3 separate regions of the Homo sapiens genome follow, and regions 2 and 3 are each linked to region 1. The links are contacts of gene promoters, found by promoter capture Hi-C in blood cells and fetal thymus (Javierre and others, 2016). All regions are on one chromosome and are shown on one strand. Each heading gives the region's core, a stretch centred on a gene start or on the middle of the fragment in contact. The rest is flanking DNA. Distances are from core to core; before and after follow the strand shown.

Region 1 (3,585 bases), core at 23-2,522:
AAATAAATAAATAAATAAATAAAACATAGCATTATTTTGCTTAATAGTAAATATTATATTTGGTCCTCACTTTAAAGGGTGCACAAACTGAGGGCCTGGGGACTTGCTCAGGGAAGTTCACAGAAAGCAGCCCCTTGCCTGGGAGTGGGGGTGTGCATTACACGGAAAGGACTAGAAAAGCTAGCAGAGAGACCATGGGAACTAAGGGTCCTCAGCTCTTCTGAGTCCTCTAGGAACGCCACCTTCTTCCTCTCTACTTCTGTCATTTGTTCCCTGCGGCCCCTTATATTTACTACTGATAGAAAAGGAAACATCACATTGGTGGAGCTTTTAAAAGCAAGAGACAGGTCGGGCGCGGTGGCTCACGCTTATAATCCCAGCACTTTGGGAGGCCGAGGCGGGCGGATAACCTGATGTCAGGAGTTGAAGACCAGCCTGAACAACATGGTGAAACCCCGTCTCTACTAAAAATACAAAAATTATCCGGTCGTGGTAGCGGGCGCCTGTAATCCCAGCTACTGGGGAGGCTGAGGCAGGAGAATCGCTTGAACCCGGGAGGCGGAGATTGCAGTGAGCCGAGATCGTGCCACTGCACTCCATCCTGGGCAACAAGAGTGAAACTCCGTCTCAAAAAAAAAAAGGCAAGTGACAGCAAGGGGCTGGGGGGTGCGGGATCGCGGAAGAGTCGGAGACTCGAACTTGTCCTTCTTGTATCTAGTTTGGACAAATTCGCGAGAAACACTCAAGTTCAAGTGAATAAGCCGCGGCTGACCACCCTGGTGCCGCCTCGCCGCCACCTGGTCTGAACCTCGCCGCCACCTGGTCTGAACCTACGCCAGGAGGGCCTCGTTCATCCCCGCAAATCGGCAACCTGGAGAATTCCTGTGGGCCTTGAGGGGCATCTGATGGCCAGCGCCAGAAATAATATTAGCCAGGCCTGGGCCAGGCCTCAGCCCTGAGCCCGAGGTGGCTTAGGGACGGCGACCTCAGCCTTGGGGTGGGGGGGGGGGGTGGGGGCGGCCGGGCGTCCTGGGCCGGCGGGCGCCTGGAGCTCACGCCAAGCTGCCACAGGGGCTTCCGGGACTCCAGCCCGGAGTTCCGCCCTCCAGTCGCGAGCGGAGGAGGCGGGCACGCGGCCTGGCTCGGGCCGCGGATTGGCCTGCCCCGAGATCCTGGCCACTGATTGGTCGCCCGGACGGGGCGGGGCCACGTGGCCTAAGGCGCCATCAGCCGCCCGGGAGATATCCGCCGGGGGAGAATAGGGTTGCACCATCCCAGAAGCTGCTGTTAGCTCGCCGGTCCTCGGCACGCCGCCCGTTCGCCCCTGCGCTGTCCGCCCTTCCCCTAGCGTTACTTCCGGTCCCTCGCTGAGGGGGTTCGTGCGGCTCCCAGGAGGCGTGAACCGCGGACCATGAGCGTGGGCTTCATCGGGGCCGGCCAGCTGGCCTATGCTCTGGCGCGGGGCTTCACGGCCGCAGGCAAGCGCGTGGAGGCGGGAGGCGGCTTCGCGGGCGGTCCCGAGGCCCGAGGGGGCCTCCGTCCCACCAGCATGAGCGAATGAAAGGGGAGTTTGCGTCCGGTGGGGTAGATGAGACTCTGGTTGAGCAGCAAGTGCGTCTTCTGTCCTCGTAGAGGGTTGAGGGGGAGAGGGAGACTGGCACTGTTAGGACGGCTCTGGGTTTTAGAGCCAGGGAAAGCGTGGTAACGGGCTGGGCCGCGACCCCTAGTTGAAAAGCTCTGTCTTCTGCAGGCATCCTGTCGGCTCACAAGATAATAGCCAGCTCCCCAGAAATGAACCTGCCCACGGTGTCCGCGCTCAGGGTAGGTGGAGCCGGGCGGAGTGGGAAGCGGGTGGAGGCCCAGGAAAAGGATGACCTGAGATGAAGTGAGTCTGGCCGGCCCCTGCGCCCAAGTGCTGGTCTTTGGCCGGCGGTGACCTTTACTCCAGGAACGTGACAATCTTTCCACCTTCTCTTGGGCAGCTCAATGTGGTGGGAACACCCAGGGAGACATAACTGGGGGTCAGATCCAGACACTGGAGTGGTAGAGGATTAACTGAGGTGATTATGTGATGAAAGCACCTGGCACATAGTAGGTACCTAATAAATACTCATTTTTTAAATTTTTTTTCAGACAGGGTCTTACTCTGTCGCCCAAGCTGGAGTGCAGTGGCGCGATCTCAGCTCACTGTAACCTCCGCCTCCCACCTCAGCCTCCCACCTCAGCCTCCCGAGTAGCTGGAATTACAGGCATCCACCACGCGCAGCTAATTTTTGTATTTTTGGTAGAGAATACTGTTGGCCAGGCTGGTCTCGAACTCCTGGCCTCAAGTGATCTGCCCGCCTTGGCCTCCCAAAGTGCTGGGATTACAGGGGTGAGCCACTGCGCTCAGCCATTTTTCTTAATAGACGAGTTGTATGACCTTAAAGTACTCAGCCACTTTGAGGCTATTTCCTCATTTACAACAGTGGCCACTTTGCTGTTATTCTGAGTCGTGAATGAGCATATTGGGAAGAATCTGGTGAGTTAGTTGTTCTGTTCTCCAAAAACATATTCCAAGTCTTCACCCAAAACCTGTGCTCTGTGGGAGAGGATGGCTGATGAGGCAGGTGACAGGCAGTGTCTGTGCCTAGGGTGGGCTGATGTCCCTAGCACTGGAGGGTCCTGCTTCTCAGTTTGGAGTCATAGAGGGATGGATGGCTTCCAGCCTAGCCCTGGACCACATGGAGACTGTGCGGTCCCCACGAACAAGCGGCCAGGGTTAGGATAGGGCCTGACTCAGCTGTGCTTTTAACGACCAGGTATTAGCATTTCCCTTTGCCCTGCCACTTTCACCATAGGGCCTTCTTACCTGGCAGAGGAGTGCCTTAGATACCAGAAGATTGGCAGGGAAGAAGGGCAGCCACTTCCTGGTTACCATGGAGAAGCTTGTCATGCTCCAAGCCTGTGCTTACTTGTCCAGTAGCAACAATGGGAAACTGTATTATTTGGGGTAGGGGTAGAACCCTGAGGGCATAAAGCTAAGAATTCCAGGCTGCATCTGGCAGAATCGGTTTGGCAGGGGTTCAGCTGCTCCCTGGGAGGCCTTGGCATAGCCAGGCTGCTCCAGCACTGTGAGCTGGGAGTCTCCTCTTGCAGAAGATGGGTGTGAACCTGACACGCAGCAACAAGGAGACGGTGAAGCACAGCGACGTCCTGTTTCTGGCTGTGAAGCCACATATCATCCCCTTCATCCTGGATGAGATTGGGGCCGACGTGCAAGCCAGACACATCGTGGTCTCCTGTGCGGCTGGTGTCACCATCAGCTCTGTGGAGAAGGTGCCCATCTCAGCCCTGATGCCCCTTGTGTGAGGGGAGGGTTGACCCACGAATGGCAGCTAATGGGTGGGTGCTGGTGGGAGCCGTGCCCTGGCCACTCATTCGGCTCTCTCCCTCACCCTAGAAGCTGATGGCATTCCAGCCAGCCCCCAAAGTGATTCGCTGCATGACCAACACACCTGTGGTAGTGCAGGAAGGCGCTACAGTGTACGCCACGGGCACCCATGCCCTGGTGGAGGATGGGCAGCTCCTGGAGCAGCTCATGAG
Region 2 (3,276 bases), core at 350-2,849, 520 kb after region 1:
CTTGTGGTTCCATTTTTAGAGAATTTGGGGGAAAGCAGGAAAAAATACATTGTAGTGATAATAAAAATATCTAATACTGTGTACTATTATTATCCACAGGTTTTAACCACATTCTGCCTTATTTCTACATAATTTATTTCACCATGTTGCTTGTCCACCGAGAAGCTCGTGACGAGTACCACTGTAAGAAGAAATACGGCGTGGCTTGGGAAAAGTACTGTCAGCGTGTGCCCTACCGTATATTTCCATACATCTACTAATGCTCTTCTGGCTTTTCTACAAAATACTCCTGCAATTCCAGCTGCCATTTGCAAAAACAAGGAAAAAAATCCGAAACTTTCTTTTGTTGCACTGACAGGGTCTGTACTTTTTTTTTTCTTTTTGAGTCAGGACTATGGAGCCGAGTAGTTGATCTTTTAATATAGCCGTGTTTACTTGTATTAACTTACAGTTAACATAGGAAAAATACAAGTAAGGATGTGAGAATTTGCATTTTAATGGGAAATTTTCAACCCTTAATCTGAAAACAGAAGACAGTCTTAATATAAATGTACTGTGAAGAATGCTATTGATGTTTATGGTTTCTGATTACTTTTCAAATTTTGATGTTTTTTTGCCAGTTGGCTTTTCTTAAATGAAAACACTGTTCCATTTAAAGTACATTTATGTTTTATTCAGTAAGAGAATAGAATTTTCATTTGTTTTTCTTTAAATCCTTTACTAATTATATAATTTGAAAGCAAAAAGAAGGGCCTATATTAAATGCTGAAAGTGAAAAGTGATGACATTATTAGCAGACACTGCTTAAAGGAGACCATTTGTAGCAGTTGGCTTAACCTCAACTTCTAAAACTACATTGAAAATGTAAATACATAGCTTAGTTTTTTGTAATATATGGTGACTTCAGATTTTTTTGTACAGTATTTTGAATGTGAGATGATTGTCAGGACTAACTGTCTTTTTAACAAAACATTTTCAGTATTTTAAATAAAATTTTGTAAAGTAATGTGAATTAAAAATTTTGGAACAATTAGAATTCATTCACTATTGTATAGAAGATGCTGTTAAAACATAGGAAGGGTATTTTTCTTGATCCAAAGTTTGTGAATTTGGCTTTGCTACCTCAATTGCAGGTGTTTGTTTGCCTTTATAAACTGTTGCAAATAGAAAAAAAATAGAATAAGTATATATTTTTGGAGTAACATCAATATTTAAACATTTTTACACAGATCGGTGTTTGAAAATTTGCCATTTCAGGCTAATATTTTTATATATTTTTGACTTTTTAAAAGTTCATCAGTGTTTTTGCTACTGTTAAGCTTATGCAGTTTATACTGTATTTTTTATGTATCCTTTATATTTACCAAACCTGACTCCCTGTAAAGGAGTGCTGTCTTAAAAACAACTGAAGGGGTTAAAGTCGTTTCTTTTAGTTTAATAGATGTGCATAAGGTAGCTTTAGCAATTAAATTCTAGTGAAGTTGATATAGTCTCATTTTTAATTGTCCTGTAATGGAACAGTAGCAAATTCACTAAACTTTTGTGTTCAGAGTTAAATTGTTCTCAGTACTTTCAATGTAGGGGAATGTAATAAACATAGTGTGTATGTTTGGGTTTTAATTACACATTTTATATATGAGCCATTTAGATATGCAGTGTTAATTCTATACTGCATTTGAAGTGTATGTAACTTAGCTTATGTTAATGCAGTCATGAAGTTGGTTTGCTCCAGCATCCGGTAGTCTTTAAACATTCTTTTAGTGAAATTGTCATTGTTTTATCAGTGCTAATGTGTGCAAGCAGTTTTTTTATTTTGCTTTTCTCCTGGCATCAGAAAGTGGTGGCGTTTTCTGTACTGGATTGCACCAAGGAAGCTTTTGGGGAGGAAGGAAGGACATTAAATTCTTTCCCTGGTAATGAAAAGAGCCCTTTATCAATACAGTGCTGCAATTTCTGGATATCAGCTACACTTTGTTTTTAAGTTTGTTTTTGACATGTTTATTTGGCAAATTTTATAATGAAGTTTTAAGTTGAAAATAAAATGTAGCAACATTTTGATCACTTTGGAGCCTTTTTTTTTTCCCTTTCTTGCTTGAAACTGAGATTTTTGGGACCAAGACAGGAGCCCTTAGATTCCCACCCCTGCCCAGCCTCCTGTTTTCCTAGGATCATCTGTTTGGGACCCCTGGCCAACTGCTGTTTAAAACTCTCAGAATGTTGGAACTCAAAGGGGTTAGTTGGGAATCCTAACTCCCAGAAAATGGTCATGTGTTTAGTATTTGCTGTTTGAGAAAATACAGAAATGCTAAAACTATTGTAGATCCAGTCATACTTTCAAATGCATTTGTATGAATCACAGAAGCATCTGTGCATTTGAAAGACAGTACGTGTGTGAGAGACACACGAGACACACACATGTACTGTGCCTGCTGACCGTGCTTTAGTGCTTGTTTGGATTTCCAGTTGACTCTAAGCCTGAATTGTGAGATGAGATCAGACAGCTTCACCTCTCAATTCTTCCTGCTGCGACGTTACATTGTGACATTACATTGCAAAATGTGGGTGTGTCAGAATATGCACCAATACCAAGTATACGATTTATATTTTGGTGTTTAGTTTTGCACTGTTTGGAGCAAATGATGAAATATAGGATTTTAACAAAAGATACAAGGTGGAGTGTTTCTAGGTGCAATTTACTTAAATATAGATGGTACAGTTTCCTAGACAATTAAATACATGTTTTGTTCATGGCTGTTAAAAGAGTCTAGTGCTGGGTACAAGTCCCACCTTTTCTACCCCCCTTACTATGGAGAGAGGGGACTGTTGGGATCTTCATTTGTGTACACGTGGGTTATGCTTTCTGCCCATGGACCATTGCCATGATAAAGAGACAGTGAGATGTGGCTTCAAATGCTAGCTGTGCTCCCTCTTAGCAATGTGTGTGTGGGCAATTAATCTCTTTGAGCACTGGTTTCCTCATGTATAAAATCTGGCTGATACGTCCACAGAGTATAGAGGGGCCTGAGGATGATATAGGAATTATTAGTGTTCAACATAGTGCTCAGTTATGTTAGCCATTATTAGTAGAATAACATTCTTCCTATAGGAACATTGAATTTACCAAATTCTCAGGATTTGGCTTTTAGTGGTCAGAGAGGTCTAGTGAAGTCAGAACCATATTGCACTTTTTTTTTTTTTTTTTTTAAAGAGATGGGGTCTTGCTTTGTTGCCCAGGCTGGGGTGCAGTGGCGTGATCATAGCTCAATGCAGCCTCAA
Region 3 (3,305 bases), core at 323-2,822, 540 kb after region 1:
AGTTGTGCAACTACCACTGTAGTCAATTGTAGAACGTTTTCATGAGTCCAAAAGAAAACCCTCTCAGCATCCATTCTCCAGTTCTCTGTCACCCACAAACTGAGGCAACCAATAATCTATTTTCTGTCACTATTCTGGACATTTCTTGTAAATGGAATCATACAATATATGGTCTTTTGTGATGGCCTTCCTACACTTAGCACAGAAGAACTACTGTTTTCAAGGTTTATCCATGTGATAGCCTGTATCAGTACTTCATTCATTTTGCTGGCTGAATAATATTTCATTACAGGGACATACCATATTTTATCCATTCATCAGTCAATGGACATTTGAGTTGTTTTCACCTTTTGGGTATTACAAATAATGCTGCCATGAACATTCATGTGCAAGTTTTTGGGTGGACTTTTTTTTTTTTTGAGACAGAGTGTCCCTCTGTTGCCCAGGCTGGAGTGCAATGGCATGATCTCAGTTCACTGCAACCTCTGCCTTCTGGGTTCAAGCAATTCTCCTCCCTTAGCCTCACAAGTAGCTGGGATTTCAGGTACCCACCACCATGCCTGGCCATTTTATTATTATTATTATTTTTAGTAGAGACGGGGTTTCACCATGTTTGCCAGGCTGGTCTCAAACTCCTAACCTCAGGTGATCCGCCACCTTGGCCTCCAAAAGTGCTGAGATTACAAGCATGAGGCCCTGTGCCCGGCCTGGATTTATGCTTTAATTTCTGTTGGATATATTCCTAGGAGTGAAATTGCTGGGTCAAATGGTAAATCTGTTTAACTTTTTGAGGAACTACTGGACTATTTCCAAAGTAGCTGCACCATTTTTCATTCCCATGAGTGGTGCATTTGGGTTCCAATTTCTCCCAATGCTTGTTTTTATGTATTTTTAATTCTTTCCATCTTAGTAGGTGTGAAGTTGTATCTCATTGTGGTTTTGATTTGCATTTCCCTCAAAGCAAATGCTGTTGAACATCTTTTCACATGTCTACACAGGTTTTCAATCTGGTATAGGATTCAGGGTTCTGGAAAAGGCCAGTGCTAATCCTAAGGGGAGAAGTTCATTTCTGGAGAAATAGTGTTTGTGTCCAACATCAAGCTTGTTAATTTCCTACTCTGTGCTGCCAGATCTTCCATGGCTTATTTTATTCCTGGTCTAATACATTTTGTGTTTTTACAATTTGGTCTTCTGTTTAAGACCATGACCCAGTAATTTCTTCATCATCTTGTTTAGCTTTGTTTTTATTTTAAAAGCAATTAAACTCAACACTTATAGTAATACCAAGAGTGCACCTACTTTGACATGAACTGCCATGATACATAGTTCACATACACAGATAGTGAGAACTAAGTGATGGTGCTGCCTGGCTAACAGTGACTGTTAAGAGGCATTCCAACTTCAGAGATGTGAAAATATGAAAAAGTACGTCAGCATCTTTTAAGAGTTACATATTTCATCACACAGATGCACCATTTACCTTCACCATTCCCTTGAACTTGGACATTTATTTCAAGCAAGCAAGAAAATAGGAAATAATAATAATTGCTTACCTGCCACAATGTAGGCACTCTCATATTAAGAAAAGAGTTAAATATTTCCTCCAATTCTTGGGTGAGGATGATCTCTCCTTTTATAGCAAGCTGAAGATCTTTTAAGGATTTATGTATGACAAATAATAACTTATCAAATCGTTTAATTTCTTGCTTCAAAAAGGTTAGCAAGACACAATGGATAAGGGGGTCGTGATCTGGATTTTAAAAAGAAATAAAATTTTGATATTTTACAGATTAAAAAGAGGCTTTACATGGAGGGACTTAGGCTTTGAAAGTTAAGGGAATTTTGTGTGTCTTGACCAGGGGTTGATAAACATTTTCTGTAGAAGGTCAGATAGCAAACATTTTAGGGTATGGGGACCACACCACCTCTGTGAAAGCTACTCAGCTCTCCCCTTGTAGTGTGGGTGCGGCCACACTATCTACTATGTGTGGATGCATAGACAATATGTCATGAGTAAGTGTGGCTGTGTTCCAGTAAAGCTTTACTTATGGCACTCAAATTGGAGTTTCATATAACATTTATGTGTCACAAACTATATTCCTTCTTTTGATTTTTTTTAACCATTAAAAAATGCAAAAGCCATTTTAGTTCACAGGCTGTACAAAAACAAATGGTGGGCTGGATTTGGCCTGCGAGCCCTAATTTGCTGACCTTTGATTGAGACTCAACAATGACACTGTTTTGATAAACTATTGCTCAATATTTGGTTCCCAAATAAACTTCTGCAAAGGGATAAAATATGGGTATTAAAATTTAACTGGGAAAATTATCATAGTCTAGCAATTTAGCCACTTAGAGCTGGGTTTGGAGTCATCTCTGGGCAATCAGGCTTCCTCTGTCTTCCTGGGCCTGCCCTGATTCCCCTTAGCTTCTTGGAGTCAAGTGGTCTTTCAGCAGAAGGTCCATCTAAACTTCCGCTGTTCCAGAAGGCAGAGAGGCAGAGAGAACAGGCACCTAGAACTCTTGACAATCTCCAAAGCAGAGTTGCTGCTTTCTAGTTTGCTACACTTGTTATTTCTTCACTTTTGATTTCAGTGCCACACGCTACCCACCCCCAAACTAAAGCGTGATTTTCTTCTGTGCTCTCTGTCTTTCAACTTGGAGAGAGGAGGCAGAGACTGAGTTTTCCATCTTATCTCAGTATTTTCACTTCTACAGAATTTTTGTCTTATCTTTACCTTACTCCTGACACCAGAGTCCTTTCTTGAGGAGAGTGAGGTAAGGGGAAAAAGCTCCTGTCCCATGCTCACCTTTGAGATTTTTAGAAAGAGACTCCCAAATGGAGCTTGACATCATGCTCTTCAATGTGCTTGGAGTTCCAACAGCAATTTCTTCTTTCTCCACTGTCAGTGGCAGCCGCTTTAGCAAGTCGGATAGAATTTCCATCACCAGTTCATCCTTACTCTGCTCAGGTCTGCAAAAAAAACCAAGAGAAGAATGAGACACAGAACAGGAAGTGGGGAGATGGGGAGAGATTTGTTAAAGGATTCAAGATTACTGGTAGACAGGAGGAATATGTTTAGTGTTCTATACCACTGTAGGATGAGTATAGGTAACAAAAATAGATTATACATCTTCAAATAGCTAGAAGAGAGGATACTGAAAGTTCCCAACACAAAGGATAAATGTTTGAGATGATGGACATATGAATTGCCCTGATCTGATCACTATACATTGTATGTATTGAAACATTACTATGTACCTCAGAAATATGTACAATTATTATGTCAATTAAAAAAATAAAA

What was found. The method cuts DNA at HindIII sites, captures the fragments that hold promoters and counts their contacts. A CHiCAGO score of 5 or more calls a contact.
Region 2: a fragment that was not itself captured here is called in contact with the fragment with the promoter of PYCR2 in region 1 in 3 of 17 cell types (naive CD8 T cells, neutrophils and total CD4 T cells); the score reaches 6.3 in naive CD8 T cells.
Region 3: a fragment that was not itself captured here is called in contact with the fragment with the promoter of PYCR2 in region 1 in 1 of 17 cell types (naive B cells); the score reaches 6.0 in naive B cells.

The regions. Positions count from the first base shown.
Region 1 is chr1:225,921,937-225,925,521 of GRCh38, reverse strand. It overlaps PYCR2 (pyrroline-5-carboxylate reductase 2), which reads left to right and starts at 1,272. Exons shown (of 7, transcript NM_013328.4): 1 at 1,272-1,478; 2 at 1,751-1,821; 3 at 3,139-3,318; 4 at 3,443-3,585. The coding sequence starts at 1,412. It overlaps MIR6741 (microRNA 6741), which reads left to right and starts at 3,380; the gene lies at 3,380-3,442. RefSeq lists silencers at 926-1,005, 1,146-1,235, 1,546-1,675 and an enhancer at 726-1,375. The HindIII fragment of the contact is 26,114 bases long and covers 1-2,929 here.
Region 2 is chr1:225,400,287-225,403,562 of GRCh38, reverse strand. It overlaps LBR (lamin B receptor), which reads left to right. Exons shown (of 14, transcript NM_002296.4): 14 at 100-2,061. The coding sequence ends at 260. Among named protein-coding and RNA genes, the nearest start is that of LBR, 26 kb to the left of the region's middle. The HindIII fragment of the contact is 555 bases long and covers 1,322-1,876 here.
Region 3 is chr1:225,379,828-225,383,132 of GRCh38, reverse strand. It overlaps DNAH14 (dynein axonemal heavy chain 14), which reads right to left. Exons shown (of 86, transcript NM_001367479.1): 80 at 2,811-2,974; 81 at 1,554-1,750. Among named protein-coding and RNA genes, the nearest start is that of LBR, 47 kb to the left of the region's middle. The HindIII fragment of the contact is 938 bases long and covers 1,104-2,041 here.